4 separate regions of the Homo sapiens genome follow, and all the other regions are linked to region 2. Evidence: promoter capture Hi-C in human tissues and cell types (Jung and others, 2019). All regions are on one chromosome and are shown on one strand. The core of a region is centred on a gene start or on the middle of the fragment in contact, and the rest is flanking DNA. Distances in the headings are between cores, read along the strand shown.

Evidence for each region. Contacts are between HindIII fragments. The study calls those that stand out against the background at their distance.
Region 1: a contact is called between the fragment with the promoter of UBE2I here and the fragment with the promoter of METRN in region 2, in 4 of the 25 tissues and cell types used here (dorsolateral prefrontal cortex, lymphoblastoid cells, mesenchymal stem cells and 1 more).
Region 3: a contact is called between the fragment with the promoter of NPRL3 here and the fragment with the promoter of METRN in region 2, in 1 of the 25 tissues and cell types used here (lymphoblastoid cells).
Region 4: a contact is called between the fragment with the promoter of TPSD1 here and the fragment with the promoter of METRN in region 2, in 2 of the 25 tissues and cell types used here (lymphoblastoid cells and mesendoderm cells).

What each region holds. Positions count from the first base shown.
Region 1 is chr16:1,304,114-1,311,347 of GRCh38, reverse strand. UBE2I (ubiquitin conjugating enzyme E2 I) reads right to left here and starts at 1,712. Exons shown (of 7, transcript NM_003345.5): 1 at 1,575-1,712. RefSeq lists enhancers at 591-1,202, 1,904-2,143 and silencers at 1,174-1,363, 1,564-1,863, 2,354-2,643. The HindIII fragment of the contact is 23,762 bases long and covers 1-7,234 here.
Region 2 is chr16:709,817-716,924 of GRCh38, reverse strand. METRN (meteorin, glial cell differentiation regulator) reads right to left here and starts at 1,807. Exons shown (of 4, transcript NM_024042.4): 1 at 1,532-1,807; 2 at 941-1,341. The coding sequence starts at 1,635. RefSeq lists enhancers at 1-398, 399-996, 997-1,594, 2,193-2,791 and silencers at 1,049-1,108, 1,209-1,638, 1,739-2,048, 4,936-5,065. The HindIII fragment of the contact is 3,141 bases long and covers 1,055-4,195 here.
Region 3 is chr16:137,121-143,415 of GRCh38, reverse strand. NPRL3 (NPR3 like, GATOR1 complex subunit) reads left to right here and starts at 4,743. Exons shown (of 14, transcript NM_001077350.3): 1 at 4,743-4,774; 2 at 5,082-5,266. The coding sequence starts at 5,149. RefSeq lists a cis regulatory region at 1-461, an enhancer at 4,814-4,863 and a silencer at 5,084-5,313. The HindIII fragment of the contact is 17,392 bases long and covers 636-6,295 here.
Region 4 is chr16:1,252,100-1,259,184 of GRCh38, reverse strand. It overlaps TPSD1 (tryptase delta 1), which reads right to left and starts at 3,116. Exons shown (of 5, transcript NM_012217.3): 1 at 2,823-3,116; 2 at 2,498-2,669; 3 at 2,123-2,388; 4 at 963-1,126; 5 at 177-853. The coding sequence starts at 2,904. The coding sequence ends at 809. The HindIII fragment of the contact is 12,300 bases long and covers 1-7,085 here.

The DNA.
Region 1 (7,234 bases), core at 463-2,962, 590 kb before region 2:
GGCCTTCTGGAGAAAGCGGCCAATCTGTTACAATGTAATCACAACACAGATCAAGCGTTCAAAATTCCGCTGAAAATCGAATTTGCCCTTCCAAATTCACAGATAGGCACTTAGTGAACGGCTAGTAGTTACTAAACGCTTCAGAGCAAGAAACTTTTATGATGCAAAGACAAAAACAACCCTCATCTATTAGAGCCAGGCAAGGCCCAGACACTGCAGAAACGGGGACAGGGCCGGGCACTCCAGGAGCGGCCCGAAAGTCTGCCTTCTGTCCTCCTGCTGGGCGCCCGCAACCGGCTGAGCTTTAGCTTCTCGGATCACCGCCTTGCTCTGCTGGTTGACAGCACCGACTTCAGAGCAACTTCCTGGCTGAGGGTGAGCAAAGCACTCACCTCCCACAACTCCACCGCACTGATCTCCACAACGGGTGGTCGCCACGACAGGCTGGCACAAGAAGCCTTTAAAGGCCCTCCTGCACCCAAATGCAAACTCTCCCAGGCTTGGGGAGGTATTCCCTTCTGCAAGACCCAAGCACCTGCAGTCGGGAGACGCTTACCTGGCCGCACCTGATCTGCCCCAGGCCCCGAGAATGTTTCTGAAGCAAGATCCCAAACCCTGAGACACCATACAAGCGCACACCAGCAATCACCCAGTGGCCTAGGGAACGGACCTCTCTGAATGAGCAATCAGGGCAAACTGAGGATCCGTCCCGTCTTCCGTTGCATAGGTTCTCTACCCAAAGGCAACGTTTCTTGAAGAGCAAGAAACACTTGGGGTAGGTCCTGTAAAAGGAAACAAACCGAACTCCCCAAAGACAGGCACTTTGCAAACAGAGAAACTAAGCGTAACTTCCAATTATACAAACAAAACCACTTCATTCTGCGATTCAAGCGTGACTACAGGCCACGATCACAAGCCCAACTAATCATTCCCTTACATTCCTCCTACGCACGTTAACTACCAGAACCAACTACTATTCAACCGATAAAAAGAGATGTCCAAAACAGAATAAAACTCCCCCTCCAGCGAGGCGCTCACGTTCAGGGCCCCAGCAAGCGCCAGCGGAGCATCTTCAGAGGCACAAGAAAACTTACACTTGTTTTGGTTTTAAGGCACCGAAAACAAGCCCGCTCGCCGGCCCCCACCCCCGCGAGCCAGCGATGTTGCAATCCAAGACTCTCCCCCCGCGGCCCATCCTATCCGTCCGCGGGGCGACCGTGACCCCGGAAGCCGCTCCCCGCGCAGGAGGAAGGCGCGGCCTCGCGGGGCCCCGGCTGCAGGTGGCTGCCCCGGCCCCGCGCCAGGCGCACCTCGGGGGCGAAGTGGGGGAGCCCCGGCCCCGAAGGCCTGCGGCGGCCCGGCCGCTCGGGCCGCAGCCCAGCGGCGCCAGCAGCGCGGACCGAGCCGGCGCCGAGCGCGGGGCCTCTCGGGCTCCCCGGAAAGCTCGGCCGCGGCGCGGGGCCCGGCTCGGCGGGGCGGGGCGCGGGGCAGTCGGGGGCCCGGGCCCAACAGGAGTAGAGGCCTCGGCCCGACCCCCGCCCCGCGGCCCCGGCCCGGCCCCCGCACGCGCTCACCTCGGGCGGCCGCAGCCCCGGCGAGCGTAGCGGACAGGTGGAGGACCGAGCGGGGCGGCGGCGGCGGCGCTTCCCTTTGTCTCGGGACTTCCCTCCGGAGCCCGCTCCGCGCGCAGCCAGAGCAGCTCCGAGGACCCTGGCGCGGGCGGGGCGCGCGGGGCGGGGCCTAACGCGGGGCTGCCCTCTGCACGCCTGCCTCGCGCGCCGCTCCTGCCGCCCGGCCCCGAGCGCCTCCCGCGCCGCCGAGCGCTCCCCGTTGCCCGCGCCCCGCCGCCGCGCGCCCGCGCCCCGGGTCCGCCCCAGGAGCCCGGCCGGGGGGCGACTTTCCAGTCAGGCGGCGCCCTGGACACCTACGCCCTTAAAGGAGCCGCGTCCCCGATGTGAGGGAGCGTCTGTAAACTCCCCTTCGGGCTGCCCGCGTCCACCCGAGGACACGCCGGCAAGCAGCGGGGGAAAAAGGAAGCCGAGATCTCCAAAGGCTCCCCGGATGCCTGGCGGTCACCTCTCCAGCCACAGGTCCCGGAGGTTTCCTTGGGGTCAGGTCCTGGGGCCGGGGGTCAAAGACCACTGAGGCCTAAGGATCCTCTGAAGCGTCGCAGGACGGTGACGCTCCCGCGAGTTCAGCGCCCTGTGAAACCCCTTGCAATTGGCCAGTTCGGGGCGGTAGGCGGGGACACCTTCTCATCCGCCCAATGAGCTGACCCCGTACAAAAGGCCGAATGCGAGCATGACCGACGGGAGGAGAAGTGTGGATGCTCCCTAAACCGGGGGCTGGCCCTGGGCCGGGGCGCGGGCGGGACGTGGGGGACCGCGAGCGGCGGGGGCGGGGCGAGCCCGTGGGGGAGGGGCGCTTCCGGTCCCCCCTCCCGCCCACGCAACAAGCAGGACCGGGTCGGGAGGCCCCCAGACCCGCGAGCGCGCGGGACAGTCCGTTCGCCAACGCGCGACCGTGCTGGCCCCCGGGCTCTCCCGGCCCCCCCGCCCGCATTTCGCCGACGGCGGGGCCGCAGCCAAGGTCACGGTGTCCGGGTGCTTGGGGACCGCGGGGAGTGACCACATTCATTCATTCCCTCCCTCACTCATTCATTCATTCCCTCCCCTACTCCGTCATTCCCTCCCTCACTCACTAATTCCCTCCCTCCCTCACTAATTCCCTCCCTCCCTCATTCATTCGATCCCTCCATCACTCAATCATTCCTTCCCTCTCTCACGCATTCCCTCCCTCACTTACTCATTCATTGCCACCCTCACTCACTCATTCCCTCCCTCACTTACTCATTCATTCCCACTCACTCATTCCCTCCCTCACTCACTCATTCCCTCCCTCACTCATTCCCTCCCTCACTCACTCATTCCCTCCCTCACTCATTCCCTCCCTCACTCATTCATTCCCTCCCTCACTCACTCATTCTCACTCTCACTCATTCCCGCCCTCATTCATTCATTCCCGCCCTCATTCATTCATTCCCACCCTCATTCATTCCTTCCCTCCCTCACTCATTCCCTCTCTCATTCATTCCCTCCCTCCCTCACTCACTCATTCCCTCCCTCACTGATTCCCTCCCTCACTGATTCATTCATTCCCTCCATCACTCATTCATTCCTTCCCTCACTCATTCCCTCCCTCACTCATTTCCTCTCTCATTCATTCATTCCCTCCCTCCCTCACTCATTCCCACTCTCACAAACTCATTCCCTCCCTCACTTACTCATTCCTCCCTCATTCATTCCCTCCCTCATTCGTTCATTCCCTCCCTCATTCATTCATTCCCTCCCTCCCTCATTCCCTCCCTCCCTCATTCATTCATTCCCTCCCTCATTCATTCATTCCCTCCCTCATTCATTCCCACCCTCCCTCATTCATTCCCTGCCTCCCTCACTCATTCCCTCCCTCACTCATTCATTCCCTCCCTCCCTCACTGATTCTCTCCCTTATTCATTCCATCCCTCACTCATTCCCTTCCTCCCTCATTCACTTCCTCCCTCACTCATTCATTCACTCCCTCCCTCATTCATTCATTCCCTCCCTCCCTCACTCATTCCCTCCCTTACTCATTTATTCCATCCCTCACTCATTGCCTCCCTCCCTCATTCCCTCCCTCTCTCCCTCATTCATTCATTCCCTCCCTCATTCATTCCCTCCCTCACTCATTCCCTCCCTCACTCATTCATTCCCTCCCTCACTCATTCCCTTCCTCCCTCATTCATTCATTCCCTCCCTCACTCATGCATTAATTCCCTCCCTCACTCACTCATTCCCTCCTTCACTCATTCACTCCCTCCCTCCCTCACTCATTCCCCCACCACCTCCCACAGGGTCCCCAGCGGGCATTTCCCTGTCAGGCACCTGCAGCAGGAGGGGCAGCCACACACCCTGGGTCTGCCTGCCTGGGAGGCGCAGCCGTGGGGATGTGGGTCCAGGGCAGCAGGGGCAGCCTCCCCCAGAATCCAGTCCCTGGAAGCCATGCACAGCCCTGTCCCACCAAGACCAGCGGGGGCCTGGCCTGGCTGCAACTCCCAGGCTCAGAGCCTCCGTGGCCTGTCTAGACACCTGCTGTCCTGGCCCCCAGCCTTGAGGTCCTGGGAATCTGCTTTTTTTTTTTCCTTTTTTTTGTGAGATGGAGTCTCACTGTGTTGCCCAGGCTAGAGTGCAGTGGCGCCATCTTGGCTTACTGCAACCTCCACCTCCTGAGTTCAAGCGATCCTCCTGCCTCAGCCTCCCGAGTAGCTGGGATTACAGGCGTGCACCACCACACCCGGCTAATTTTTGTATTTTTAATAGAGACGGGGTTTCACCATGTTGGCTAGGCTGGTCTCAAACTCCTGACTTCAAGTGATCCGCCCACCTCGGCCTCCCAAAGTGCTGGGATTACAGGTGTGGACCACCACGCCCAGCTGAAATCTGCATTCTTAACCAGCCCCCTGGGCAAGCCTGGCAGAGGGATATGGCCCTTTGGCTTCCTGACATGGGCTAAGGTTCCAACGCCATCTTTCTGGCGAAGATGCCAGCACAGGGCTGTGTGGGGAGGCGTCAGCCAGTAAAAGCCGTGGCTGAAGAAAAGCAAGACAGCCACGGGCCTCGGTGGATCCCGCTGCAGCCTCAGGCACAGAGAGGGCAGGGCTGGTGAGGTGGGGGGCTTGTCATGAGTGGGGCTTGGGGAGACTGACTGGATGTGGTGTGTGGCTGGGGAGGGCCTGGGCCTGAACCTGTGGGCCATGGGAGCCATAGAAGGTTGTGGAACAGGAGAAGTAAGACAAGGCCCTGGTTCCCTGTGTGTGTGTGGTGAGGGACTGAGGAGACATGGCTCAGGCATCTAGAGAATTCCTGTCCTGGTGGGAAGTAGTGCCAGGAGGGGCTGGGGTTTGGGGAGGCTGTGGCAGGTGAGGGTGAGGGACATGGAGCAGGTAGGGGTGAGGGTCATGGAGCAGGTGGGGGTGAGGGGCATGGAGCAGGTGGGGGAGGGAAGAGGCTCCCTCAGTTGTGCATCCTCAGCCCACAAGTGTCCTTTGAGCAGCCTGCACCTGGCACACGTTTTCAAGGAGAGGGGACTTGTTGGGTCCAGCTCCCTGGGTACAAAGGAGAAACTGAGGCTTGGAGAGGGTGGGGGGTTTGAATCAGTAACTATAAGATCCTGGGCAAGGCTTGTGGCTGACTGTGCCAGGCACGCGCCCACCTTTGCCCTGGTCCCCTTGGGAGGGGAGCAGGAAGTGTGATGCAGAGCTGCCTGCGGTAGGGCGGGACCTCCAGTGCCCTGGGTGCCCCCTCCGGGGCCTGCTGGGGCCAGGCTCTGCACAGGGGTTTGAGAGCAGAGGCCTCTTCACTGAGGGCCGATTCCCCCAGAGGAATAAGGGCCTCTGCAGTAGAGTGAAGGTGGACCCTTACCCCGGAGCACGCACAAAAACCAGCTCAAAAGTCAGCCTCGGGCCAGGCGCGGTGGCTCACGCTGGTAATCCCAGGACTTTGGGAGGCTGAGTAGGGCAGATCGCTTGAGCTCAGGAGTTTGAGACCAGCCTGCCCAACATGGTGAAACCCTGTCTCTACTAAAAATGCAAAAATTAGTTGGGTGTGGTGGTGCACGCCTGTAATTCCAGCTACTTCGAAGGCTGAGGCAGGAGAATCTCCTGAACACGGGAGGCAGAGGTTGCAGTGAGCCGAGATGGCGTCACTGCACTCCAGCTTGGGCAACAGAACGAGACTTCATTTAAAAATAAAAAGAAAAAAAAATTCACATATCTGAGAAGGAGTTATTATCCAGGATAATAGGCTGGGCGCGGTGGCTCACGCCTGTAATCCCAGCACTTTGGGAAGCTGAGGTGGGCAGATCACTTGAGGTCAGAAGTTCGAGACCAGCCTGGACAACATGGTGAAACCCCGTCTCTACTAAAAAATACTAAAGTTAGCTGGGTATGGTTGTGCACACCACTCCAGCTCCTGGGGAGGCTGAGGCACAAGAATCGCTTGAACCCGGCAGGCGAAGGTTGCGGTGAGCTGAGATTGCACCACTGCACTCCAGCCTGGGGGACAGAATGAGCTTCGTCTCAAAAAAATAACAAAAAAATCTGGGATATAGAAAATCCCTACATCAATAAGAAAATGGCTCTGGAGGGCCGGGCGCAGTGGCTCACGCCTGTAATCCCAGCACTTTGGTAGGCTGAGGCAGGTGGATCACCTGAGGTCAGGAGTTCAAGACCAGCCTGGCCAACATGGTGGAACCCCATCTCTACTAAAAATACAAAAATTAGCTGAGCATGGTGGCAGGCGTCTGTAATCCCAGCTACTGGGGAGGCTGAGGCAGGAGAATCGCTTGAACCCAGGAGGCAGAGGTTGCAGTGAGCCAAGATCATGCCATTGCACTCTAGCCTGAGTGACAGAGTGAGACACCGTCTCAAAAAAACCAAAACAAGGCCGGGCGCGGTGGCTCAGCACTTTGGGAGGCCGAGGCAGGCAGATCATGAGGTCAGGAGATCGAGACCATCCTGACTAACACGGTGAAACCCCGTCTCTACTAAAAATACAAAAAATTAGCCGGATGTGGTGGTGGGCGCCTGTAGTCGCAGCTACTCGGGAGGCTGAGGCAGGAGAATGGCGTGAACCCAGGAGGCGGAGCTTGCAGTGAGCGGAGATCTCGCCACTGCACTCCAGCCTGGGCGACAGAGCGAGACTCGTCTCAAAAAAAAACAACAAAAAAAAAACAAGCAAACAAAAAAAGACTCTGGTTCCTGCCCCTCCAGCCCGGATGTACCTCACTTCCTCCTCCAATTCAGGACACGCCCTCGACTCTCTGGGGGTCTCCCCTGCAGCTCAACCAGCCAGGATGAGGGTTTCAGAAGATACTGCTCAGAGGCTGTGACCCAGCTGTGCCCCGATCCTACTGTGCTCTGCAGGGCTCCTCCCGAGCTCCCTGGGGGAACCCCCTAACTGTAGAGGCCTGGGCCCTCAGCCTCTGGCTGGCCCCAGAGAGTGCAGGGGGTGTCTTCTAGTCTCAAATTCCCCAGGCTGGGAGGCTCAGTAGGGAGAAGGAGCAAAGCCCGCTCCCTCGCTCCTGACTGTGCCGCTTCCTTGGTGGTGGTCACCAGGCTCACAGGTCCCCATCCGCTAGAAGAATGGTGGGGGTAGGAGCAAAGTCTGGGGCCGTTTCTGTTTCCCTGTGCCGTGACCT
Region 2 (7,108 bases), core at 558-3,057:
CAGAGGGGGTGGTGAGGAGAGGCCCTGCCCTCTCCCGGCATCACCCCAGGCCCCGTCCCTTGTCCGCACAAGCGGCAGGAGGCAGCAGGCAAATGAGCAGAGCCCACGCTCAGGGCCTGATGGCACCTGGGGGTCCCAGAGAGCTACACAGCAGATGTGCACGCCCTCGGCGACACCTGTACTCAGGAAACACACTTGCAGGCGCGTACCTCCAAGGCAGGAATGCACACAGACGTGGGCCTGGGGGCCATGCCTAGCGATCAGCTGTCCTGGGCCGCCCTCCTGCACTCCCATCTGACATATGCACCCCAGCATCTGGGACCCCTCTAGTTTCCCGGATCTGAGGTCTGAAGAGCAGCAGCCCAGCTAGGGTGATAGGAAGTGGGGGCAGAGGAAGGGTGGTCTGGGGTCCCTGGCCCAGGGCCAGGGGGCAGAATAGCGAGAGCCCATCCCTTTCAGGGTCAGGCGCCAAGCTCCAGGAGAGCCAAGCAAGAGCTGGGCCTGGTGCCCTGCAGGGAGGCGAGCGGCGTCTCCATGGTGACCGGGCTGCACACTGGACTTTTGTTGGTTGGGCTGGGGGAGGGGAGAGAGGTCACCGCTGGGCCAGGGAGCCCCGGACAGCTTTGGCCGGAGGCTTCGATTCTGTCCCCACCATCTCTTCCCCCAACCGTTCAGGGACCAGAGGCCCAGGATTGCTGGGCCCGGCCTCCCCTTCCCTCCACTCTGCCCCTGCCAGCTCTTTCCAGAGATGAATCGGGAAGGGAGGGCGGGGAGGCCATCCCTCCCCAGCAGTCCCAGGCTGTGTGGCCTGACAAGCCCATCCAACCCTTGTAGCTCACTTTTTCCTTCTGCAGTGGGGCCGACAAGGCACATTCCCGCCAAGCCCAGGCAGGGTAAGACTTCGGGACTCCCACCCTGTCCCAACCAGACCGCCACTCACCGTCTACGCCGAGACCGTGGGCCTGCGGGGGCAGCTCGGGGCGCCCGTCCTCGCGCAGCTCAAAGCGGAAGGCGGCCACGCGGCGGCTGATGTCCTGGTGCGGCGTGGCCTGCAGGAAGAGGGCCCGGCGCTCGCGGGGACCCCAGCGCACGCAGCGGCCCCCTGCCGGGCCCGGGCCCTCGGCCAGCAGCAGCTCCAGGGCGCCCCCTGCGCGCTCCGCGAAGACCTGGGCGCCCGCGAAGGGCCGCACCGGCCGCAGACAGGCGATGCCGGGCCGCGCTCTGGGATCGGGGCCGCCCAGGGTCAGGCGCAGCGCCCCAGCCGGGTACAGCCACTCAACCGCGCCCTCCGCACAGGCCAGGGCCAGCTGCCCCACGCTGCCGGGCTCCTGGGTGAGGCCGCTGGGGACAGGACGGGACGGGGCGCTGAGACGGGGGCGGGTCCCCGCCCGGCGCAGCCCCCGCTCCCTCCCGAGGCCGCCTCGCGGATGGGGAAACCGGCCCAGCGCTCTGCGCGCTCCGAGGGGCGCCTGGGGGGTCCTAGCCGCAGCGCACCCCGTCCTAAGTGCGGGGACAGCCCCCCGGACCGTACCTGCCCCTCCAGCTGCAGCGCTCCTCGGAGTAGCCGGCGCGGGCAGCCGGGGCCAGGAGGCCGCAGCACAGCGCGCAGAGCAGCGCCGCGGCCGGGAACCCCATGGCACGGCGGGCGGCGTCCGGGGAGTCGGGGCTCTCACCACCGCTGCCCCGGCGGGGCGCGGGTCCGGGCGGCGGCGGGAGCAGCCGGGGGCGCCGGCCGCCCGGCCCCGGCGAAGCCCCCAAGCCCGCGGCCGCTCCGCCTGCCGCGCAGCCCCAGCGCCGGGGCCGCCTTGGAGCGGGTCGGGAAGGGGGCGGGGCCTGCGGCGTGTCGGCCAGTCGCGGCGCGGCCCGGAACTTTCCGCCAATAGCAGGCGCGGGGCGGAGCGGGGGCGGGGCCGGAGCTCGGGCGCCGCCGGAGGACTATCCCACGGTCCAAGCGCCTCGAGGGTTGGGGGGGGCCTTGGCGCGGAAGGGAGGCTCCTTGCCCGCCCCGCGCTGTGCGTCTCTCCTTCGCCGCGCCCTCACCCTGGCCTCGCCCCCCGCGCTGTCCCGATCGGAGTCCTGGAGCCTCTGATGGAGCCGAGGTTTTGATGTCCACTGGAACCTCGGGGTGGCGGTAGGGAAGGTGGCCCACCTGGTGGTTCCGCCTCGCGGGCGGCCGGGCCTGCTCCTTCCTAACACTGGGACCTGGGCCTGTTGGCCACATCCCTCCCAACCAGGTCCGGTCCTGCTGACCAGAGGCCGGTGGAGCCCCAGAGGAGAGGGGTCATGACTCCAGAGGCGGGGAAGGCCTGGCCTGGGGGCTGCGCCTTGGAGCGGGGCCAGGCCTCGGGTTTTGGTAAGGCCGTCTGCAGGAGGGGGTCCTGCTGAAGAGCGCGCAGCCCGCAGGCTTAGGCCCCTTTCCTCAGACCTAGCGGCACCCCATAGTTGCCGGATGACCGACCCCGGGCCAGACGGGGCTCCTGGAGGGGCGTGAATGGAGCAGCCACGGGCACCCCTGCAGGCCTGCAGCACGTGGAGACACAGGAGCTGGGAGGACACCCCTGGGCCACAGGAGCAGCCCCCACCAAGATGAAACAAGCAGAAACAGGCGATTCGCAAACACACTGTAGCCTCAGGCTGGAGCAGTGTGGGATTCCCAGCATCCGGGACTGCTGAGTTGGCCTGATGGGAGGAAGTGGGCAGTGGCTGGCCAGGTGGACAGGAAGAGAATGGGGGAGAGCAGACAGCCTGGGTCAAGGGCCTGAGGAAGGAGCTCTTGGCAGCCCAGTGAAACCCCAGGGCATGGGTGGTGGGTGGGGACGACAGGTCAGATCACAGAAGGCCTAAGGCACAAGCAAAGGGGTCCCACTACATACTGAACCCCTTACGGACGACAGAAGCTTTAGCCGGGGACTGCAAGGACCAGCATAGACTGTGCAGCCTGAAGATGTGAACATTCCGTCCCCTGCCCCCAAACCTCCTGCCACCCGGCGCTCGAAACTCATGGTGGACAGATGAGTTCACCAGTGGCAGTCGGACAGATGAGGCCAGATGGCTCAGTGGCAGTGGGAGGCTGGATCCCACTGACCAGGCCCTCCCTCAACCCCAGGGCCCTCCCAGGCCAAACAGGAACAAGGCGCCTACTGGGCTCGGCCAGCCCCTTGCTCTGGGCGAGGTGCAGGTCAGAAGTAGCCATCACAATCCCCAAAAGGTGGAAGACTCCCAAAGGCCTGTCTGCAGCTGAGTGGACAAGCAAGTGCAGTGGGTCCATTTTTTTTTTTTTTTTTGAGACGGAATCTCGTTCTGTCGCCCAGGCTGGAGTGCAGTGGCTCGATCTCGGCTCACTGCAACCTCTGCCTCCTGGGTTCATGCCATTCTCCTGCCTCAGCCTCCCGAGCAGCTGAGACTACAGGCGCCCGCCACCACACCCGGCTAAATTTTTGTATTTTTTCTTTTTTTAGTAGAGAGGGTGTTTCACCGTGTTAGCCAGGATGGTCTCGATCTCCTGACCTCGTGATCTGCCCGCCTTGGCCTCCCAAAGTGCTGGGATTACAGATGTGAGCCACCGCGCCCGGCCTCTTTTTTTTTTTTTTTTTTTTTTTTTTTTTTGAGATGGAGTTTCGCTCTTTGCCCAGTCTGGAGTGCAATGGCGCGATCTTGGCTCACTGCAACCTCCACCTCCTGGGTTCAAGCGATTCTCCTGCGTCAGCCTCCCGAGCAGCTGGGATTACAGGCATGTGCCATCATGCCGGCTAATTTTGTATTTTTAGTAGAGACGAGGTTTCTCCATGCTGGTCAGGCTGGTCTTGAACTCCCGACCTCAGGTGATCCGCCCACCTCAGCCTCCCAAAGTGTTGGGATTACAGGCATGAGCCACGGCACCCCCTGGCGGTGGGTCCATTATTAAGCCATAAAAAGGAATGAAGTTCTGGTCCCTTGACACCCGCTACAGCCTGGATGAGCCTGGAGGCTTATGCGCTGAGCAAAATAAGCCAGAGACAAAAGGACAAACACTGTTGGATTCCACTTCTGTGAGTCACCTTAGAGTAGTCACGGTCATGAGGACAGAAAGTGGAGCAGGGGCTGGGGAGGGGAATGAGGGATTGGAGCTTAATGGGGACAGAATTCAGGAGCTTGATTACACAACACAAATGTACTCAACAGTACGGAACTGCACACTTTAAAATGGGTAAAATGGTAGATGTTATGATGTATATCTTACAATTAAAAATAAAAATTGTCAAGGCGCAGCGGCTCCCACCTGTAATTTCAGCAGTTTGGGAGGCCAAGGCAGGGAGATCACAAGGTCGGGAGTTCGAGACCAGCCTGGCCAACATGGTGAAACCCCATCTCTACTAAAAATACAAAAATTAGCTGGACGTGGTGGCGCACGCCTGCAGTCCTAGCTACTTGGGAGGCTGAGACAGGAGAACCGCTTGAACCCGGGAGGTGGAGGTTGCAGTGAGCTGAGATCAGGCCACTGCACTCCAGCCTGGGTGACAGAGTGAGAGTCTGTCTCATAAAAATTAATTAATTAATTACATAAAAATTAAGGCCGGGTGTGGCAGCTCCTGCCTGTAATCTCAGCACTTTGGGAGGCTGAGGCAGGATGATCGCTTGACATCAGGAGTTCAAGACCAGCCTGGCCAACATGTTGAAACCCCAACTCCACTAAAACTACAAAAATTAGCTGGGTGCAGCAGCTCATGCATGTAGTCTTAGCACTTTGGGAGGCTGTGGCAGGAGGATTGCTTAAGCCCAGGAGGGTGAGGCTGCAGTGAGCTGTGATTGCACCACTGCACTCCAACCAGGGCGACAGAAGAGACCCTGTCTCAATAAAAATTAAAAAATAAATAAATAAAATATAAAAATCGTAAAGGTTAAAGGGTAGACTCGGCCTGGGGCTGAGCACATGAGGTGCTCGCAGAGGTGGGGAGAGGCACACGGGTCGGCCGCTGCAGCCACCCAGCCGTCCAGGGCTGCTGCCGCTTGGCGGTCCCCGGGTCAGCACGGTGGGCTCCAGGCGCCCTCTGGTGGCGGCGTGAGGGTCAGCCCCAGACACCCTCCTGACAGCCTGGGCCCCGGACTTCTCCCCAGGCCTCCTCCAGAGAGGGGCCAGTGTCTGTGGTTGGAGGGAGGGGTTCCTGGGGTGACCTGGTCTGGAATGGCACATGCCTGGCCCCGAGTTGACGCCTCAACCCCGGGCGTCCCTGCCTCCTCCCCAGCCTCATCTCCGGGGATCCGGTGCCAATGCAGCCACCCACAGGAGAAGCCCTGGACACACACCCCTTTTCCTCACAGCCCCCGGCCCCACCCAGGAAAGCACCTGGCATCAGTGAGTGCTGTGCTGCCTACAGGAGGGGCCTGGAAGGCCGAGTCTGTCCTCAGTTGCTATGGGTACAGGACCCGACTTGCCAGGGTGCTGGTGCTCAGTAAATACCAGCAGACTAAGTGGGGGGTGGCTGGGCGGAGGAGTGCCTGGAAGGCATCCCCAAGCTTAGGTGATGCCGTGGCTGTCTGTGCTGTTTGGGGGCCCCCTCAAGTGCCCCAAGCCCCAGACCCTTGAGTGCCCTGAAACCCCAGAAGGGGCCTCTCTCCATTTCCACCCAAGTCAGAACGCGACAGCAGCAAGACATACTCAAGTCAGACAAAAGGAAGAACTTCCCTGAGGCTTTGTTTCAGAAACCTTGGGCCTAGCGCGTGAGGCCACCCCTGGAGAGTGCAGAGTCTGGGACAATCATCTCTCCCGCCTGCGGGTCAGCCTGGCCGTGGCCAAACACAGACGCCATATCACAAGGCCCCTCAGCCCAAGGCAGGGCGGCCAGCCTCACAGCTTGTCCCGAAGCCTGAGACTTGGTTTCTGTTCCTGTCTTGCCCAGAGGGCCCTTGGAGCTGCAGCCTGAGGGGGTGCTGGGGTGGGGGCGGTCGAGACCCTGGTCACTGCCACATGGTTCCCACCTTCGGCCACTGCGTTCTCCCCCCAGACACAGGTTCCGGCCCGTGGAGGACACCAGTGCTGCATTTGCCATGAGCTGGGCCCCAGCAGTGCGTGGCACAGGCAGCCCACGTCCCGCAGGGGAGCGGCTGCGGACAGGTGGCTGCGCCACGGAGTGCCGAACAACCCGCTGGGGACACCACAGTGCCGGGCACAGAATAGCAGCTGTCACGGCCAGGGCAGGAGCTGGCTGGCTGGGGCCCTGGGGGAGCAACATCAAGGACGAGGGGAGTTGATGGGGGGGCAGGAAGGGAGCCCCAACCCTGGGGAGAAGAGGGGCAAAGGCCCTGAGGCAGACAGAACTTCGAGTAAACCAGGAACCACAGAGGGTGAGCCCTGGGGGCTCCTTGTTTGCTTGAAGCTCCATCTGCCTCAGAGCCTTTGACCTGCTGCAAAGGGGAGGCGGGTAAGGCCGGCCCCACCCAGCCCATCTGCCCTGAGGGAGTTGGGGAGTTTGGACGCACCGGTGAACAGGATCCCCCAGGAAATGGGGAGGAAGCCTAGAGAGAAGGGCCAGATCGTAGGCCAAGACCCCCGCCTGTGTCTCTGTTCACTGGCAGCGGAGCGAGGAGAGAGGTGTGGGCTGACCTGAAGCCAGCGCCTCCTGTGTCCCCAGCTGAGCCCTGCACGGGATTGGCCAAATGTGCTGCTCTGCGGCCGCCCTGCTGCCCCCTCCCTGGGTGGAGCTGGGGTCTGGGACAGTGAAGATGGCTCCCACAGCTGAGGGGCACTGGGTGCCAAGAGCCTGCCAGACCCTGGGCCACCCAGAAACATGCTCTGATAGTGCAGCTGTGAGCACTGGCCTGCGTCCCCTCTACCCAGCCGACCTATGAGGCTCAGGGTGCTTGGGGGCCCATCAAGGACATAGTCCTAGCTGCCGACTCATCCAGGCAGCCTGCACAACCCCTGGCTCCCCTCCACCGGCCACCTGCCCCCCTGCACAGGCAGGATCCGGCCTCGCCCACCCACAGGCCTGCACCTCCGGGCCCACGGCAGCAAGATTCCTATCTTGGGGATGCTTTCCTCCCTTTGCCGAGAGACCCACCCCCCCACACCTTGCCTCTCTTCAAGGAGCCGAAAATGCAGCTGCCGACTGATTTGCTGTGGAGCTAAAAA
Region 3 (6,295 bases), core at 3,494-5,993, 580 kb after region 2:
CACCTCTAGGATGGGGATTAGACTAGCCCCCACCTCAGTGTTGGGAGGGCGCTCAGGAACTTGCAGCATGAATTTTAAATTATTTCTATTACTACTGTGTGTGAGTGGTTCTCCCTGGTGGGGCAGCAACACTCAGCTGAGAAGGTGGAGGTGTCCAGGCAAGTCCCAGATAGCGTCTGTGAACCCCACCCGGCCCTCCTGCAGATGGCGGTGGCCCTTTGAGGCCCAGACCAAGTGGCAGGACCGATAAGGCCTCCTATCCTGCCAAGGGCAGGCCCAGGCTGGGAGGAAGGGTCAGGGGTTTCAGTTTCCAAAAATCTACTTACCGTCAAAAAAGCAGGTCATGAAACAGCTATTTAAAGGTAAAATGAGGAGACTTGGAGGTGTGGGGTCTTAGCAGAGAAGAGCCTGAGGATGTCCCCTGTAGCAAATGGAGGTTGGCCCTGGTGCTTCATTGTCCAGGAGACCCTGGGAGAACTTAGAGCTGGGACTCACTCAGGGACCATCTGCTCTGAACCCTGTTACTGGTGGGGAAACTGAGGTCCAAAGCAAGGCCCACTGACCCTCAGGCCAGCGTGTGACAATGATGTCTCATTTCTGTCACAGCCAATGAGGTGCAAACATGGACATGAGGGTGGCGCTGGGATCCAGAGTGCTGCTTCGAGGGCAGGGACGCACCCAGGACCTCTGTGGGCTGGGGTCATGGTGAGCTCCCTGCACTTTCACCAGTTCGAGCTCTCATTATGACTGACGATAGTCAGAAGAATGAACAATGAGTGCCAGGGTTACTGGCAGGAGGCCAACCCTGAGAGGGTAACCGGGGGAACAGTGGGATCCTTTGAGCCCAGAGATGTCCAGTCTGGAGCCCCAAGGTTCTGCCCATTGGGGCAGCAGCACGATTAGGTCAGAAGAGCGAGACCTGAGTCACAGTCCTGCTCCATTCGCATGGTCGCTGTGAGGGTCCCTGTGAGGAGGCCTCCATTACCACCACCGGCCACTGCCCTGGGTTCCCCCACCCCCATCTGTCCCATCTCACCCCTCCAGCCTCAAGCCCTGCTCCTGCAGTCTCATTTCCATCCCAGAGGCACTCCTGGGAAGTGCGGGAGAACTCACAAACCTTTTGATTATACATAAAATCAAAACATGGACAACGGGGATAAAGCCTTGCAAAATGTGTAGCAGAGGTTATGTATTCCTCAGAAAGAACACAGCCAGACCATCCAAGAACAGACCACCTGTAAAGAAAACAAGAAAAGCAATTCTCTGCAAATAATTAAGTGATGCAGCTCTCCCTCTCAATCAAAGAAATGCAACATAGAACAAGACACCATTTTCCTTTCTGGGAATTTCAGGAAAAAAAAAAATGTTATGCAGGCCGGGCACGGTGGCTCACGCCTGTAATCCCAGCACTTTGAGAGGCCGAGGCGGGTGGATCAAGAGGTCAGGAGATCGAGACCATCCTGGCTAACGCGGTGAAACCCCGTCTCTACTAAAAATACAAAAAAATTAGCCGGACGTGGTGGCGGGCGCCTGTAGTCTCAGCTACTGGGGAGGCTGAGGCAGGAGAATGGTGTGAACCTGGGAGGTGGAGCTTGCAGTGAGCTGAGATCGTGCCACTGCACTCCAGCCTGGGCGACAGAGCAAGACTCCATCTCAAAAAAAAAAAAAAAATTAGCCTGGTGTGGTGGCGGGCACCTGTAGTCCCAGCTACTTGGGAGGCTGAGGCAGGAGAATGATGTGAACCTGGTAGGTGGAGCTTGCAGTGAACTGAGATTGTGCCACTGCCCTCCAGCCTGGGTGATAGAGCGAGACTCTGTCTCAAAAAAAAAAAAAAAATGTTATGCAGCCCTGTGCAAGAAAACGCACCTGTTGGTACTGTTGAGCCATTTCAAATGCACGTACCCTTCACCCTGGTGAGGCCAATCCACAAATTTGTTCTGCAAAATACACATTAGTGTCAGTGTTGGTGCAAGAGGGTTACTTGCAACAGTGAAAATGCTCATCCCTCAGTCAAGTGGTTAGGTTCTGATGCATTTGATGTGCTTGGGAAAGTTCTGGAAGCAGCCAAAGAAGCTCATTACCTTTAGTTACCTCCTGGGGAAGCCTGGGATAGGGTAGGTGGGGTGATTTTTTAAAAAACAACTTCATTGAGATATAATTTACCATACCATACCAATTTGCATACCATAAAGCTTATCCACTTCAAGTGTACACTTCCATATCTTTTTTTTGTTTTTGAGATGGAGTCTCGCTCTGTCGCCCAGGCTGGAGTGCAATGGTGCGATCTTGGCTCACTGCAAGCTCCGCCTCCCGGGTTCACACCATTCTCCTGCCTCAGCCTCCTGAGTATCTGGGACTACAGGCGCCCGCACCATGTCCAGCTAATTTTTTGTATTTTTAGTAGACACGGGGTTTCACTGTCTTAGCCAGGATGGTCTCGATCTCCTGACCTCGCGATCCGCCTGCCTTGGCCTCCCAAAGCGCTGGGATTACAGGCATGAGCCACTGCGCCCGGCACTTCCATGTCTTTTAGTGTATTCGCGTTCTCAGAGCTGTCCAACCATTACCACAGTCAACGTTAGAACATTTTCATCACTCCCCTTCAAAAAACCCATGAATCGCTCCATATTTCCCCTGACCCCCTGGAAGCCCTAGGCAGCCACTAATCATTCTGTCTCTATGGATTTGCCTATTCTGGGCATCTTATATAAATGGAATCATATATTAGTGTGTCTTCAAGATGGATTCATGTGCCGTACTTCATTCCTTTTTATGGCTGAATAGTATTCCCTTAAACAAACTATACCATATTCACCCATTCATCAATTGATATACCCTAGGATTGCTTCCACTTTGGGCTATTATGAATAATATTACTAAGAACACACATGTTTTTGTGTGGACATATGCTTTCATTTCTCTTGGCTATATATCTAAAAGGGGGATTTGCCGAGTGTTGTGTTAACTCTAACCTTTCAGGAACTGCCAGCCTGTTTTCCATAGCGAGTGTAGCCTCTTACATTCCCACCAGCAGGAGAGAGATTCCCGTTTCTCCACACCCCTGCTGACGCTTGTCTTTTTGATTACAGCCATCGTAGGAGGTGTGATGTGGCATCTATTTGTAGTTTTGATTTGCATCTCCCTAATGCCTAATAATGTTGAGCATTTTTAATTTCTGTTTTGCCCAGGCTGGTCTGGAGTTCCTGGCCTCTCAGCGCTGGGGTCACAGGCGTAAGCCTCTACCAGTTGAGCTGAGCATCTTCTGGTGCTTATTGGCCATTTGCATAATGCACTGGAAAAATATTCATATCCTTTGTGCATTTTTCAATTGTCTTTTTATTGTTGAGTTGTAAGTTTCCTCCATTCTAGATACAATTCCCTTATCAGATATGTAACTTACAAATATTTTCTCCCGTTCTGTGGGTGGACTTTTAATTTTCTTGATGGTGTCCTTTAAAGCACCGAAGTTTTTGTTTTGTTTTGAGATGGAGTCTCGCTCTGTCGCCAGGCCAGAGTTCAGTGGCACGATCTCGGCTCACTGCAACCTCCGCCTCCCGGCTTCAAGCGATTCTCCTGCCTCAGCCTCCCGAGTAGCTGGGATTAGAAGCAGGCGCCGCCAAACCCAGCTAATTTTTGTATTTTTAGTAGAGAGACGGGGTTTTACCATGTTGGCCAGGATGGTCTAGATCTCCTGATCTCATGATCTGCCCACCTCGGCCTCCCAAAGTGCTGGGATTTCAGGCGTGAGCCACCGCGCCCGGCCGCAGTAAAGTTTTTAATCTGATGAAGTTTAATTTATTCTTCTGTAGTCGCTCCTGCCTTTAGTGTCACTGCCTCGCCCAAGGTCTCAAAGATCTCCTGTCGGCTTCCAAGTGTTTTTTTTTTTTTTTTTTTTTTTTGAGACGGAGTCTCGCTCTGTCGCCTAGGCTGTAGTGCAGTGGCGCAATCTCGGCTCACCGCAAGCTCCGCCTCCCGGGTTCAAGCGATTTTCCTGTCTCAGCCTCCCGAGTAGCTGGGATTACAGGCGCCCGCCACCACGCCCGGCTAATTTTTTTTTTTTTTTTTGTAGAGACGGGGTTTCACCATGTTGGCCAGGATGGTCTCGAACTCCTGACCTCGTGATTCACCCGCCTCGGCCTCCCAAAGTGCTGGGATTACAGGCGTGAGCCACCGCGCCCGGCCTTTTTTTTTTCTTTTTTCTTTCTTTCTTTCTTTTTTTTTTTTTTGATACGGGGTCTCGTCGCTCTGTCGCCCAGGGTGGAGTGCAATGGCGTGATCTTGGCTCAATGCAACCTCCGCCTCCCGGGTTCAAGCGATTCTCCTCTAGGATTACGGGCGCCTGCCACCACGCCCGGATAATTTCTTCTAATTTTTAGTAGAGATGGGGTTTCACTATGTTAGCTAGGATGGTCTCGATCTCCTGACCTCGTGATCCGCCCGCCTCGGCCTCCCAAAATGCTGGGATTACAGGCGTGAGCCACCGCGCCCCGCCCAAGTGTTATTTGTAAAACGAAGAAACCAACATCGAGAGGGACGCTGACTCGACCCCGCGCCTTTCCCATCCGCACCAGCAAGAGGGGCCCCTGTGCCCCAAACGCGAACCGTACGGCTCCAGACAGCACCGCGGAACTCGGTGGCTTCCAGAAGGCCCCGCGCCTGCGCATTCCGCTGCCTGCGCCTGCGCCTGCGCCTGCGCCGTTCTCCCGGCCGCCGCCTTAGCACCTCCTCCGGACGGTGTCGCCGAAGTCTCGCGAGCCCGGAGCGTGGCACGTGGGTTGGTAACTGTGGCGCTGCTCCGCGTCCACCACCACCCCTGTCCTCCTCAGGCCCCCTCCGCCTCCACCCCTGCCCTCCTCAGGCCCCCTCCGCCTCCACCCCTGCCCTACTCAGGCCCCCTCCGCCTCCACCCCTGCCCTCCTCAGGCCCCCTCCGCCTCCACCCCTGCCCTCCTCAGGCCCCCTCCGCCTCCACCCCTGCCCTCCTCAGGCCCCCTCCGCCTCCACCCCTGCCCTCCTCAGGCCCCCTGCGTCCCCGCCTCGTCCTCCTCAGGCCCCCTCCGCCTCCGGCTCCGTCCTCCTCAGGCCCCCTCCGCCTCCGGCTCCGTCCTCCTCTGGCCCCCTCCGCCCCCGGCCCCGGCCCCACGGCGGGATGCGGGACAACACCAGCCCCATCAGCGTGATTCTGGTGAGCTCGGGGAGCAGGGGCAATAAGCTGCTGTTCAGGTACCCCTTCCAGAGAAGCCAGGAGCACCCGGCGTCCCAGACAAGTAAGTGAGCGCTGGGCGGGGGCCTGGCGCTCGCGGGGGCCGCCTCATTCCGGGGTCGCCTCATTCCAGGGCCGCCTCGCGGAGCTTAGCTTTTGCTGGGCATTCGAGATCTGCTCGTTGTAGAGTATTTGAAAAGTAGAAAAAGGAAAAAAAAAATTAAAATCATGCATTGTTCACCACACCAAAGCAACTACTGCTGACATTTCATCAGTCTCCAGCCTTTAAAAAATAAAGTAAAATAAAATAAAATGAGTTTGGGATGTATTCATCATGAGAAAATACAAAATTACACGAACAAGGCCGGTGGCGGTAATCCCAGCACTTTGGGAGGCCGAGGCGGGTGGATCACCTGAGGTCAGGAGTTCGAGACCAGCCTGGCCAACATGGTTGAAACTCTGTCTCTACTGAAAAAATAAAAATAAAAAAAAACAAATTAGCCGAGCGTGGTGGTGCGTGCCCATAATCCTAGCTACTTGGGAGGCTGAGGCAGGAGAATTGCTTGAACCCGGGAGGCGGAGGTTTCAGTGAACCGAGATCGCGCCACTGGATTCCAGCCTGGGCAACAGAGCAAGACTCCGTCTCAAAAAAAAAAAAAAAAGTTACGTGAACATCTGAAGTTGTCTTTGCCACCCCCAGTTCTAGCAAGCACAGGGATCACCCCTGGCCGTGTTGGGAGTTGTCTGCCCTGTGCATAGATGCAGATCTATCCACAGGAAAAGGGAACGTCGCGTGAGGTTTTTCATCGCACGAATTGTTCTGTGGCGCCCTTTTCCCATAGTCGGCCTTGGAGCTCCGTCTGCCTTTGCAAGCAGGGATCAACCTCACCCTTGGCTGCAGGCTGCTGCCTTCCCCTGTGGACGGCATGTAGGTTACTTTTGATTTTTCATCATCATGAATGTTCAGTTTTTGTTTTTATTTTATTTATTTTTTGAGACGGAGTCTCACTCTGTCGCCCAGGCTGGAGTTGAGTGGCGTGATCTCGGCTCACTGCAGCCTCCACCTCCCGGGCTCAAGGGATTCTCCTGCCTC
Region 4 (7,085 bases), core at 1,867-4,366, 540 kb before region 2:
CGGGAGCCACCTGTGCCCCCACTCGCCGACCAGGGCAGCTGAGGAGGCCCCACCCCACAGTGACTAGTTGTGCCTCGGGGTCCAGGACCCCGCAGCTCCTGCAGCTGCCCCGAGACATGCCTAGACCCTTCCTCCCCCGTGACACCCACGACCAGAAACACAGTGACGGCCACACCTGCTTTCCATCATGCACTTTAATGAGAGTCAGCACTAGAGAGGATGGGCGTCCACCACCAGCTGCCTGGGCAGGGGAGGGCCGGAGGGGCCGGGAGGGGCGGATTCAGGGTTGGGGAGGAGGCTCAGGATGGAGGAGGGGGCAGGATGGAGGAGGGGGCTCAGGATGGAGGAGGGGCTCAAGAAAGGGGAGGGGGCTCAGGATGGAGGAGGGACTCAAGAAAGGGGAGGGGGCTCAGGATGGAGGAGGGACTCAAGAAAGGGGAGGGGGCTCAGGGTGGGGGAGGGGGCTCAAGAAAGGGGAAGGGGCTCAGGGTGGGGGAGGGGCTCAGGATGGGGGAGGGGATCAAGAAAGGGGAGGGGGCTCAGGACAGGGGACAGGGCTCAGGATGGGAGAGGGGACTCAGGATGGGGGAAGGTGTGGGGGGCAGTCACCACCTGGGTAGGAAGCAGTGGTGGTTTGGACAGGAGGGGCTGGCCCTCCAGTGACCCGGGTGGACACCCCAGGCCTGGCTCAGGGCTTCTTGGGGACATAGTGGTGGATCCAGTCCAAGTAGTAGGTGACACGGGTGTAGATGCCAGGCCGGTTGGGCTGGGCACAGCTCTCCTCCCAGCTGACCACGCCCGCCTGCAGTTAGGTGCCATTCACCTTGCAGACCAGGGGCCCTCCAGAGTCACCCTGGGAAGGTCAGAGGTCAGTGCTCGCTGGCCAGGCTTCGGGGGTCAGGATGAGGGATGCGCTCGCTGGCCAGGCTCCGGGGATTGGGGTGGGGGACGCGAGGGCCCACCTGGCAGGAGTCGTGATTTTCGCTCCCCGCACACAGCATGTCATCGCGGACGATTTGAAAGCTGTGGCCCGTATGGAGGCCGGTGTGATATTCCGCGTTGCAAAGGTGGTTTTCCACTACGGGGACTTCCACCTCCTTCAGCGGGTATGGCGGCGGCAGGTGCACTGGGGGCGGAGGGGGGCGTGGAGCCGGGTCTGGGGCCGGCTGGGTGCTGCTTCGTGGACTTGGTGGCAGAGTCACGGGCAGGGGAGATGGCACCATGGGCCCAGTGCTGTTCTGTGCCTGCAGCCCCGGGGAAGGGGCGGTGAATGCAGTCCAGGCCCCTCCGCTGAGGCTGGTCCTGGGTCCCTGGCCTCATTTAAGCCCCATCTGGGGAAGGGAGGGGAGGGCCCTGGAGGTTGCCAAGCTGGGCTCCATGGCACGGGGGTGCAGAGCCCGACCCGTGTCTCCCCCTGGGCTCAGCTGACTTTCGTCTGGGCTAGGCCCATGGTCCACGGTTGGCCCTAGCCGAGGGGAACACAGGGCGCTGGGCTCAGCTTCCCCGCTGTGTGGGGCGGAATAGCGGGACAGTGGCTCAGGCCCCTTCTGAGTGACCCAGAGGTCACAGCCCAGGGTTGCCGCTCAGGCTGTACCCCAAAGCTTTGCTCTGAATTGTGGATAAAATGGGGACAAGACCTTCTAGAAGTGAAAATGTGCCTCGTGGAGGGCCACAGTGAGCTTCGTCCAGCCCCCCACAGCACTGCCACGACCCCGATTCCCAGGCCCCTGCCTTGTCTGTAGCACAGGGATGGAGGGCAGGCAGGTCTCATCCCAGCACCGGTCTCTCTCCTTCCAGCAAGACCCCCGTGTGATTTCTCTCTCCACATAGCAAGTCCGTGACGTACAAACTTTTGATGCACCCTTTCAGGCAAGGGGAAACCGAGGCACGGAGGTGCTAAGGGACTCTCCAAACCCCTGGGGTGGGGGACGCCCAGGCCCTTTGGACTCACCGTCTCTGCTCAGGGCACCTGCTGCCTCTCGCCACCGCCTGCTCCATCCATCCTGGCCTCCACAGTCCCCCTCCCTGAGCCGCCCTGAGGGACCCTGTCACCCCACGGACTGGCCTGTGGCTGTGACTTGGTGCCCACCTGGCCCGGCCTCCCGCTGTCCCCAACACCCACCATTATTGTCCACGTCGCCCCAGCCAGTGACCCAGCACGGCATCCCCGGGGGGAAGGTCTCCGAGGCAGGGGGCAGCGTGACCGTGTGGATGTGGCTGGAGATGTTCACGGGCTCCTCCAGCTCCAGCAGGGCGATGTCCGCCCCGGTCTGGATGATGTAGAACTGTGGGTGCACGATGATCCTGCTGACCGGCAGCAGCTGGTCCTGGTAGTAGAGGTGCTGCTCCCGCAGTTGCACCCTGAGGGCGGCCAGATCCTTGATGTCCCTGGGCAGCGGAGGATCCCACTCAGGGCCCTGGGCAGCCCCCAGGAGCACCCGGGAGCCAGGGCTCACATCCAGCCCTTGCCCACCCCTCCAGGCCCCAGGAGACTCACGGTTCCACGCAGTGCGCCGCGGTTAGCACCCACTGGGGGTGGATGAGGGAGCCCCCGCAGAAGTGCATCCAGTATGGGCCGCGGACTCTCAGGCTCACCTGCCAGGGCCACTTGCTCCTGGGGGCCTCCTGCCCCCCAACAATGCCCGTTTGCTGCAGGGCCTGGCCTGGGGCTGGGGCAGGTGCCAGGTCAGGACCAAGAAGCCGCCCCACGCCTGGGACCAGCCCTTCCCTGTGTGGGGGCCAGCCCGGCCTCCCCAGAACCCACCCAGGCCCTGATCTGTGGAATGTGGTGAGGGGCAGGGTGGACCCCGGCTGGGACTCACCAGGGGCCACGTAGGCCGGGCTCGCCAGGACGGGCAGCGCCAGCAGCAGCAGGCTCAGCATCTGGGGAGCAAGGAGGAGCATCGTGGGCCTGGCCGGGCCTCACAGGGCAGGGCTGGGGGCTACAGATTGTGGGGTGAAGAATGGAGCTGGGACGGGGGGACCGGGGTGGGTCCAGGCCTGCGGGCCTGGGTCTTGGTGCTCTGAGTCTGAGGCTGGGCCACTCTGCTCCAGGTGACGCTGATGTCAGGGTCTCTGAGAGTAGGGACTTACCCTGGCCACTCCCTGTTCCTTCTACCCAGCGGGCTCTCCCCTCCCCATTTATGCTTCCAGATCAGGAGGGGGCGGAGGAGGGGCGCTGGGTCCTCCCATCCAGACTCGGAGGAAGTGGATGACTCAGACCCAGGGCCCCCGTGTAACACATGCCCCCGCCACCCCGATGCCCTCTGTGTGTGGGGCTGCCAGGCAGGCCCCGCCGAGGGCTGAGCACTGGAGGCTCGCAGCTCCACCTGTCAGCTGGTGGATCCCAGCACTGGAACCCACCACCTTCCCGCTGGTGGGATCTGCTCCTGCCCCTGTCTCGGTGCCAGGAGGCCTTCAGGCATAGCTGCACCCAGGTGGCCTGGCTGCCCCAGGCTACAAGACCCGTCGCTCCTGAAACCTGTTTCCCCAAGAGGGACACGGGGTGAGGAACTCATGTCCATGGGCCACCCTCCAAGAGACGGGAAGGTGCCCACGGGGTGGGGACATGACGGGTGACACCCCTCCTACGGACTCCGAATCCACGGGGGTGGGGCCAGCCCTCCTCGACTCACTTGGTTGGGGGCTCACATGAGACCCCTTTGTCAGATGGGGAAACAGCCTTGAGAGGGGACAGCACCAAGTGTCCTCAGCCAGGAAGGGGCCCTGCTCCCCACCTCCCGTATGAGACCCAAGTCCTCCAACGATTCCTCAATGTCCACCTCTGGGGCTGTCCGTGCAGGTCCCCTGGTCTGCAGGTGCCTTCTTATCATGGGATCTGAGCTTCATCCGCAGAGGGAAGGGCAGACAGGAGTGCAGGTGCAACCCCAGGAGACCCAGCCCAGCTCCCCATGGACTCACCCCCAGCCCCAGCCCAGCTCCCCATGGACTCACCCACAGCCCCAGCCCAGCTCCCCATGGACTAGTCCCAGCCCCAGCCCCAGCTCCCCATGGAGTAGTCCCAGCCCCAGCCCCAGCTCCCCATGGACTCACCCACAGCCCCAGTCCAGCTCCCCATGGACTCACCCCCAGCCCCAGCCCAGCTCCCCATGGACTCACCCCCAGCCCCAGCCCAGCTCCCCATGAACTAGTCCCAGCCCCAGCCCAGCTCCCCATGGACTAGTCCCAGCCCCAGCCCAGCTCCCCATGGTCTCACCCCCAGCCCCAGCCCAGCTCCCCATGGACTAGTCCCAGCCCCCGGCCCCAGCTCCCCATGGACTCACCCCCAGCCCCAGCCCAGCTCCCCTTGGTCTCACCCCCGGCCCCAGCTCCCTGTGCTCTCCATCCCATTCAGCGCTGACACTGTCCCTGCAGCTCCGTCCACCCCACCTCCTGACTCACCTGGGCCTGTTGGTCACTGGGGCCTCCAGCCCACCTCCTCTGCTTCTGAGCCCCAGGACCCCCTGCCTGCCCCCCGACCCCCAACACAGGGCCACTCCGGGGCTCCTCCTGCCCCCACCCTGCCTGGGACCAGCCTGGTTTGAGGCTGACTCTGCACTGCGGGGCCATATCCATCTGGACTCCTTCCGGGCTGCACCCCCCGGGGGACAGGCAGGGGTGGCCCAGACCGCTCCTGCTCATGACCCTGCTTCTCCTCCATTCTCTGGACAAACTCCCCAGAGGCCTCCACCTGCCCCGTCCTGGTTCCATGAATGAGGCCCACAAGATGGGACCTTCAGGAGCCCAGGAGGTGAGGGGATGGGGTGACGGGGGACACCAGGGATGAGGGTGTGGCAGGGACACGGGAGACACCAGGGCTGACGGTGAAGAAGAGACTCAGGGGACACCAGGGCTGGGAGAACCCAGGGACACACGGGGACACCGGGGCTGTGGTGTGCAGAGGGCTCTGGGACCCCCGAGTCAGGGGCTCTGGGGCCGCTCCTCCTAGGAATGCTCCGATTGGGTCAGGCCTGGGAGGCGGACCAATCAGCACCATGGGGATGCGAGAGCCTTGATTGGCTAACACTGGGCCAATCAGGGCGCGTCCTGGGCACCCCGCCCCGATCCCCGGCCGCTCCCCTGGGGCTGCTGCAGGGCTGGGGTCCCAGGCCATTGACAGACACTGGGCAAGAGGCCACGTGGGGCAGTGTCCCCGAGAGAAGGGTGGGGAGTCGGGTGAGACGACAGTGGCCGCGCCCAGACTCAGGGCAGCGATGGGAAACTCAGCCCCAGGAGCTTGCTGGGCTGGGGAGACGCACCTGGCGCGTGCAGAGGCCCCGGCAGCCATGACTCACGAGGCGGAGAACTGCACGGAGAGCTCCGGGCATCCGCAGGGGGTTCCCCCCGGCGTCCTCGGCCGAGTGCCGGAGATGCAGAGAGACGTGGGAGCCGCGTCGGAAACGAGAACCACCAGATGAGAGGGGCGGAGTCCGGGAGTGCGCGCGGGGCTGGGGATATCGCGTGTTCCCAGCAGCTGAGTGGAGAAACCTTGTCAGAGGCAGGCACTGGAGAGTCCTCGGAAGGGTATGGAAGGGTACGAGGGGAGAAAGTAATCCCGAAACCAAAGGCTTCTCCGGACCCACCCTCACAAAGCTGAAAAGCAAAGCGCAGACGGATCCAAATGATTGCAAGTGACTTAACTGCCTGTGAGAACACATCTCAAAACGATGTCAAGGAATAGAACACAACCCAGCACGCAACAAAACACTCCAGAGAGTACTCACGAGATCCGGGGGCTAGTCAAGAACGAGCGGGTGGCCGGGCACGGTGGCTCACGCCTGTCATCCCAGCACTTTGGGAGGCCGAGGTGGCAGATCGTGAGGTCAGGAGAACGAGACCAGCCTGGCCCACATGGTGAAACCCCGTCTCTACTAAAAATATAAAAATTAGCCGGGCGTGGTGGCACGTGCCTGTAATCCCAGCTACTCGGGAGGCTGAGGCAGGAGAATCGCTTGAACCAGGGAGTCAGAGGATGCAGTGAGCCGAGATCGTGCCACTGCACTCCAGTCTGGTGACAGAGCAATACCGTGTCTTAAAAAAAAAAAAAAAAGCAGGCATGAAAAAGGATGACCTCCCAATAAAAAAAATCAATCATGTTCGGGCGTGGTGGTTCACGCCTGTAATCCTAGCACTTTGGGAGGCCGAGGCGGCTGGATCACCTGAGGTCAGGAGTTCAAGACCAGCCTGGCCAACGTGATGAAACCCCATCTCTACTAAAAATACAAAAATTAGCTGGGCGCGGTGGCTCACGCCTGTAATCCCAGCACTTCGGGAGGCCAAGGCGGGTGGATCACCTGAGGTCAGGAGTTCGAGACCCCCCTGGCTAACACAGTGAAACCCTGTCTCTACTAAAAATACAAAAAATTAGCCGGGCGTGGTGGCGGGCACCTGTAGTCCCAGCTACTCGGGAGGCTGAGGCAGGAGAATGGCGTGAACCCGGGAGGCGGAGCTTGCAGTGATCCGAGATGGCGCCACTGCACTCCAGCCTGGGCAATGAAGGAGACTCCGTCTCAAAAAAAAAAAAAAAAAGAAATGTGAAAGGAAGTTCTGCAGGAAGAAGATGATAAGAGATGAACATCTAGACCTAGACTAAGGGAAGATAAGCTCTGGAAATGGAAACAGCTGTGACTGTGTAAGACAGTTTTCTCTCTCAAAAAATATTTGAAAGAGAATTGGCAGTTTGAAGCAACAACAGCAAAGCGAGTGCAGGTATCGTGTGGTTTATGGAATACACAAGGGTGCGGCGTGTGCTACAGTAACAGAAGGATCCGGGGAGACTAAAAGCAGGCTGTTGCAAGTTGAAATTGCACGTGAAGTTGTGGTGTTTTGGAATTAATGCACTTTATTTTTTAGAGCAGTTTTAAGTTTACAGACAACTGGGCAGATAGTACAGATCGTATCCCCCCACACACACATCCCCACACACAGAGTTTCCTGTTATGAACATTTTGCATTACTGTGGGTGCATTGTTACAGCTGATGAACAATATTGATACATTATTACTAACGAACTCCCACAGTTTACATGAGGGTTCACTCTGTCTGTTGTACATTCTGTGGGTCGTGGCAAGTGCACAAGTCATGTG